Regions from separate parts of the Homo sapiens genome. Here region 1 is linked to region 2. Evidence: promoter capture Hi-C in 16 types of primary human blood cells and fetal thymus (Javierre and others, 2016). All regions are on one chromosome and are shown on one strand. The core of a region is centred on a gene start or on the middle of the fragment in contact, and the rest is flanking DNA. Distances in the headings are between cores, read along the strand shown.

Evidence for each region. Contacts are between HindIII fragments. The CHiCAGO score rates a contact against its expected background, and 5 or more counts as called.
Region 1: the fragment with the promoter of PBX4 here is called in contact with the fragment with the promoter of SDHAF1 in region 2 in 3 of 17 cell types (monocytes, M0 macrophages and M1 macrophages); the score reaches 15.9 in monocytes.

What each region holds. Positions count from the first base shown.
Region 1 is chr19:19,617,204-19,620,501 of GRCh38, reverse strand. PBX4 (PBX homeobox 4) reads left to right here and starts at 1,815. Exons shown (of 8, transcript NM_025245.3): 1 at 1,815-1,991. The coding sequence starts at 1,873. RefSeq lists a silencer at 1,824-2,033. The HindIII fragment of the contact is 7,939 bases long and covers 1-3,298 here.
Region 2 is chr19:35,993,806-35,997,322 of GRCh38, reverse strand. It overlaps SDHAF1 (succinate dehydrogenase complex assembly factor 1), which reads right to left and starts at 2,135. Exons shown (of 1, transcript NM_001042631.3): 1 at 1,011-2,135. The coding sequence starts at 2,048. The coding sequence ends at 1,701. RefSeq lists silencers at 1,679-1,798, 1,829-1,888 and enhancers at 1,949-2,028, 2,289-2,338, 2,673-3,172. The HindIII fragment of the contact is 4,511 bases long and covers 990-3,517 here.

The DNA of each region.
Region 1 (3,298 bases), core at 566-3,065, about 16 Mb after region 2:
GCCTCAGCCTCCCAAGTAGCTGGGACCATGACCAGCTAATTTAGCTATTTTTTTAATTTTTATTTTTGTAGAGATGGGGTCTCACTATGTTCCCCAGACTGGTCTTGAACTCCTGGGCTCAAGTAATCTCCCACCTCAGACTCCCAAAGTGTTGGGATCATAGGTGTCAGCCACTGCACCCAGCCTGAAGGCCACTACTGTTCAGGCCTCCTGGGCAGTGCTGTGCTTGTGGGTGACCTTTTGAACAGGCACTGGTCTCCGTGGCTCCCATGCAATCTATTACTTTCTGTCATTGGAGCCAAGTGTCGGTTTCCTTCATCAGAGAGCTTTCCCTATTGTCCAGACACTCGGTCAATGTCTTTCATTTTTCACTCCCTGCCGTCCCCTTTGGAGTCTCCCGACGCTCTCCAATCCAGCCATACCAGATGGTGTTTGAATTTCCTCCCCAGCAGCAATGGAGAGAACGTGGGCCCCACCCTGGAAGGGCTCCCAGCCAGCAGGCTGAGGACCTTTTACTGAGCCCACATCTGGAGACTGTCCTCATAGCAAATAGGCTCCAGGAGGTTCTGTGACTTTGGAGAAGAGATTCATGTCCAGGCCATTACTTTTTTTTTTTTTTTTTTTTTTTGAGACCTGGTCTCCGTCAACCAGGCTGCAGTGCAGTGGTGCAATCATGGCTCACTGCAGCCTCAAATTCCCAGGCCCAAGTGATCCTCCCACTTCAGCCTCTCAAGTCCCAAATAGCTGGGACCACAGGCGTGCACCACCACGGGGTCTCACTATGTTGCCCAAGCTGGTCTCAAACTCCCGTGCTCAAGTGATCCTCCCGCCTCTGCCGCCCAAAGTGCTAGGATTACAGGCATGAGCCACCGCCCAGTTCCTTTTCTTGTGCACTAGGAGCCTTCGATGCTGTGTCCTAAGGACTAGAAACAAAGATGTGAGGATTCGCTCTGATTTGGGGTACACTGCAGGGGAGTCTCTCAGTAAACATCCTTCCTTCATTCGGTAACCACGTGGTAGCATTTTCTATGCCCAGAACTGTAATCTGCGAAGATGAATAAACAAGCGAGGTCACTCTTCAGCTGGACCTTGAAAGGTGACTGGAATTGATTTCTGCAGTGGAGAAAAGCGCTGCGTTCTGACCTCCTCGTTGCCATCAACCACGCACGCCTGCGCCCCGCCTTAGCCAGGTGAACGGGGCGTGGAAAGCTCTAGAGGAAGAGCCAGGGGCCCCAGTGGCCCACCTGATGGGGCTGAGGATGCAGGGAGCATTAGGGGGACTGAGCAGGGGTCTGGGGCTTGGGGCTTCTGGAAATGAATGGGGGCTGTCGATCAAGCTATAAGAGGTGTGGGGTTCTGAGGAGGAGGGGGTGGCTTGGAGGAAGAGTTGGGGTGCTCTGGGGAGTGAGGGTCTCTGAGGACCGAGGGCTTTGAGGAGAAGGGGGCCCTGAGGAGGAGCAGGAACTCTGAGGAGATGCGAGTGGGGCTGAAGGAGGCGTGCACCGCGCGAGATGTGAGGGATGGGGGCCTCTGGCTGGAGCGGAGCCAGCGCTGCCCTCTCTCAAGGGGAAGGAGGGCGCTTATGAGAAGTGCCGTTGCCTCGGCAACCCCAAACCCAGTCCAAGCCCGGAGAGGGGGAAGTTCGGGGCGAGTCCCGGGGGCGGTGCGTGGCGCCGGTTGGCTGACGGAGATGAAGGGGCGTGTCTGTAGGCGGTGCAATACACGGGTTGGCTGGCGATAGCGGCGGTGGGCGTGGCTTAGGCGCGAGCGAGAGCGGGCGCGGCGCTCAGGCAGCGGCGGTTGGCTGCGGCGCCAGTGGTAGTGCTCCAGGCTCGACGGCACCCTCACAGCGCCCGCCCGGCCCTGCCGCTCATGGCCGCCCCGCCGCGCCCCGCGCCATCGCCCCCCGCCCCGCGGCGCCTCGACACGAGCGACGTCCTGCAGCAGATCATGGCCATCACCGACCAGAGCCTGGACGAGGCACAGGCCAGGTGCTGCCCGCGGGCTCGGCAGGGGCCACGCAGGGTCGTGGCAGTGAGGTTGGCGGGCTGAGGGGACGGGGCGTGGAGGCCAGACTGACGAGGGGCGCTTGAGGAGGGCTGGAGGGGGGTCCCGAGGACGAAGGGATGTATGGGGTTCAAACGGAACGGGCTGGATAGGCCTTATGGGGCCGAGCAGTGGCGTGAAGGATTTTCAGCAGCTCATCTTGGGGCGAGAAGGTTGGGTTTAGGGGTTTAGGGAGTAGGGCTGAGAAATGGGCACGTACGGGACTTTTGACGAGTGAATGACTAAATGGGTACGTTAATGGGACTCCTGCGGCTGGAAGTTTTTTTGTTGTTGTTTGACACGGTCTTGCTCTGTCGCCCAGGCTGGAGTGCAGTGGCGTGATCATGGCTCACTGCAGCATCCACCTCCCCGGCTCAGTTGATTCTCCTGCCTCAGCCTCCCGAGTAGCTGGGACCACAGGCGCACGTGCAACCACGCCCGGCTGATTTTTTTGTATATTTTGTAGAGACAGGGGTCTCGCTATAGTTGCTTAAACTCCTGGGTTCAAGCACTCATTCCGTCTCGGCCTCCCTAAGTGCTGGGATTACAGGCGCGAGCCACCGAGCCCGGCCTGTGGGTGGGAAGTTTCCAGGGCAGATGATGGAGAGTGAGTGGCTGGGAATGGGACTCAGGAATGTCTGCAGGAGACTGAAGAACTGAACTGGGGTAACTTGGTGTGGGAACCATCGAGAACTTTTGGGAAAAGGGTTAGTAGAGGAGTGGGTGGAGATGGAAGACCTATTTTCTTTTTAATGAATTCAGCAAATTTTTATTGAATCCTTACAATAACTGGATAGGGAACCGGGTGCTGACATAGTCCCTGCTCTCGAGTACATGATTTAGGGGAGGGAATGTAAATAGCAAAAAATAAGGACTGGGTGGAGTGGCTCACATCTCTAATCACAGCACTTTAGGAGGCTGAGGCAGGAGGATTGCTTGAGCTCAGGAGTTCGAGACCAACCTGGACAATGTAGTAAGACCTCGTCTCTACTAAAAATAAAATTAAAAAATTAGTTAGGTGTGATGATGCAAGCCTGTAGTCCCAGCTACTTAGGAGGCTGAGGCTGCAGTGAGCCGAATCAAGCCATTGCACTCCAGCCTGGGTGACAGAGCTAGACCCTGTCTCAAACAAAAGCAAAAAAGTATAAGCCAGGCATGGTAGCATGGGTAGGTAATCCCAGCTGCCTCCCAGTGGGAGGATCACTTGAGTCCAGCAGTTTGAGACCAGCCTGGGCAACATAGTGAGACCATC
Region 2 (3,517 bases), core at 886-3,385:
AGTGCAGTGGCGTGATCTTGGCTCATTGCAACCTCTGCCTCCAGGGTTCAAGCGATTCTCCTGCCTTAGCCTCCTGAGTAGCTGGGATTACAGGTGCCCACCACCACGCCTGGCTAATTTTTGTATTTTTAGTAGAGACGGGGTTTCACCATATTGGCCAGGCTGGTCTGGAACTCCTGACCTCGTGATCCGCCCATCTTGGCCTCCAAAAGTGCTGGGATTACAGGAGTGAGCCACTGCGCCCAGCCTTGGTCTTCTTGCCTAGAAGCCTATCCCGGCAATTAATTCTTCAAACTGCAATTCCACTTTATAACCATTTGGGAATGTGGCTCCCCCACCGGGATTAGGGCAGTGACTGTTTCTCTTCCGTCCATCCTCCCTTTGGTCTGAGGTCTATGCTCCTTACCTGTGGTCCTCCTACCCACAGCTACATCCACAAGAACTCATTTCCACTTATTTAACTGATATGGGTGCAAATATAGCTCAGCGATGCAAAATGCATCCCTCCACAGAATGTCTAGGGCAGGCCCATATGGGGACACCGGAGGGAGTATATCTGTGATCTATGGGGTTCATCTCCCCTCTCCTGCCCCAGGGCCTTGTCGTTCACTGTAGCTGAGGCTGGACCCTTCAGCCAGGTTTGAGAAATTTCCAGGTCTGAGACCCTCACTACTGCCTCAGGGGCTCCGAGCCAGTTCTCAGCTCCACCATTTCCTCTTCCACACAAAGATGTTAAATCACTTGCCCTCCATTAGGGAGCCAACTGGGGTATCTTTGGGGGTTAAGCCAGGATGAGCCCCCTCCACAGATCTGCCCAGGGGAGAAAACTATGCCGCTTCAATCAATGTGCCAGTCTACAGGGCTCCGGAAGGAGTCAGATCCCCACACCTATCACCTCCCAGATGGTCCCTTCCAGGTGTCTGTGTGCGTGTGTGTGTGGTGGCAGGGGGGCTGGGGGTGTTTCAAAAATCCTGAAATATATAAAAGCTTTAAGACCACCAACAGGGAAGTAGACATATCCCCAATTTTATTCCCTTTGTCCAACATTCCGAGAGGGAAGGGGCAAATGAGTCAATGTTGCCCCTCAAAACCATCAAGTAGGGGCCTTTGGGGGTCTTCAGTTGATCAACCAGGGTGATAGACCCCTACCCCTTCCTCATGGTCCTGGCTTGTCACAATTAATGGGGGAAAGTTTTCCAGAAGGGGATTCCGGGCTTCTCACCGCTCATCAGGGCACCTTCCCAAAACGTTCTCAGCAAAAAGTCTGCACTTCTCAGAGTTAAATACAGGAGAGGGGAGACTCCTTGAGGAGCCAGAAGTGGGTATGTTCTCAGGGGTCAAGAGAAGGGCGTCTCAGGCTCTCCCTGTCCACCGGGGGTCGTCCTGGCTCCCCGTACCTTCGGGCAAGTAGCTCTTGGCTTGACACTGTCCAGCCCGCCAGCGTCCCAGGCCGCCCCAAGCCCTCATGGGGGAGGAGCACCGACCTGTCTCCAAGCATCGGAAAAGGCGGGCCTCCCTTGCCGTCCATCACGGGGCTCTCTAGGCCCCCTGCGTCGCCAAGGAGGAGTCTCTGACATCCCCAATTCGTCAAGCTAGTCTCTTAAGACCTCTCACCTTAGGCGGGTTCCCCAGTCCCCCCATGCAGTCAGGCGAGCCTCCTGGCTCCACCACGCCATCGAGCGAGTTCGGCTCTTCGCCTGTCACCGTCCGTCGGGGCGGGTCTCCGGTGCCCCCGTGCTGTCGTGGGGGTTCCTTGGACTGTCGCCGTCGTCAGGCTGGCAACCCACGCCGCCAGGCTCCCCGGTCGGGGCCCGCGGGCGTACGAAGGCGCCCATGGCGGTGGCGTGGCCCGAGCGTAGCAGCTGCAGCTGGCGCCGCCCGCGGCGGTACAGGTACTCGATGCGCAGCACGTCGGACCGCGGCAGGCCCGCATGCTGCCGGAACTCTGCCCGCACTCGCGCCTCGGCGCCCGGCTTCCCACGCCCGGCGCGCAGCAGATCGCGGTACAGGCTCAGAACCTGCCTCTGCAGCCGGCTGTGCCGGCTCATGACCGCGGCTAAGCAGAGACGCTCAGCGAACGACCTGCGAACCGCGGAGCCGCCACACAGCCAGCAAAGGCCAAAGGGCAAAGCCACAGCCACTTCCGCCCAGCGCTTCCCTTGGCCTCCAACTCCCGCCTCCCGCCATCCGGCGCTGCCGCGTCTGACTGGCTGTCGTTGCAGTTACGTAACAGCCGGCTGGGAGAAGTGGGCGGAGTCGCTGGTCGCGGCCTCCCACGTAGGGGACGTGTGTTCTTGAGGGGACAGCAGTTCTGGGGATCCTGGCACCGCCTGGAGGGCGTTATGTGTTCGGACTCCTAGGTCTTGGGTTGGAGGGAACAGAGGGTCCTCACCTAACTCCTGCATTCTGGGAGAAGAGGAAGCTAGGGGTTTTTTTGTGTGTGACGGGGTCTCGCTGTCGCCCAGGCTGGAGTGCAGTGGCGCGATCTTGGCTCACTGCAGCCTCGAACTCCTGGGCCCAAGCGATCCTCCCACCTCAACTCCCCTAGTAGCTGGAACCACAGACGCGCGCAACCGCGCCCGCTATTTATTTATTTATTTATTTATTTATTTATTTATTTATTATTATTATTATTTGCAGAGATGGGTCTCCCTATGTTGCCCAGAATGGCTCGAACTCCTGGGCTCAAACGATTCTCAGCCTCCCAAAGTGTTGGGATTCCAGGCGTGAGCCACCGCGCCCGGCTACCGGTTCGGACTTTGGGTCCCAAGGGCACGGGGCACTGGGAGAGACGCCGGGCACAAGCGTGCTTTTGCCGTCAGTTACTGATTCAAACCATCTTGGGAAGCTCCGTGCGTTCCCTCGTCCGGGGCAGGTCTGTGTCTGGGGTCCCAGCCCTGGGCACGTGCAGAGGGACGAGACCCCGTAGGGAAATGGCTCTCGGCCGGTTGGACAGGCTTCTCGGGCCAGGGGAAGACAAGCAGAGAGAGTGTGGGCGCCAAGCCCCCAGAGGCAGCGTGTGGCTCTAGGAGCTGGGTTGGTCGCGCCCTCTGCGGGTGGGAGTCGGGGCAGTGGACAGCGGTGTTTGGGTCCTTACCGACTGTTAAAGCCCGGAGTCCGGGACACCCTGAACAGTCGACTAGACTGCAACCCCGTTGTCCTCCCAGGAGCTTTAGGTGGTAGGCCGCAATGCCGTTGTTGTCCCCGCGGGCCGCCTGGAGGTGTCCTCGTAGCGCTAGGGAGGCCCGCAAGGACACAGCATCCTCGGGCCCCACCAGCACCGGAGCTTGGGGGACCCCTCCACCCAGCGCGCAACCGCGGCTCTGCACACTTGGGCCGGCAACCAGCTGGGGGGTCCATTCCCCTTCAGAGAGGAGAAGCTGGTCAGGGGCGGGGATTAGGCTTGGAGTCTTGGAGTCAGGGGAGAATCACAAACCACTGTGAATCCTGCCTGGCAGGTGTATGTATCTATCAAAAATACATGTCCTAGAACGGTGGCTCACACCTGTAATTCCAG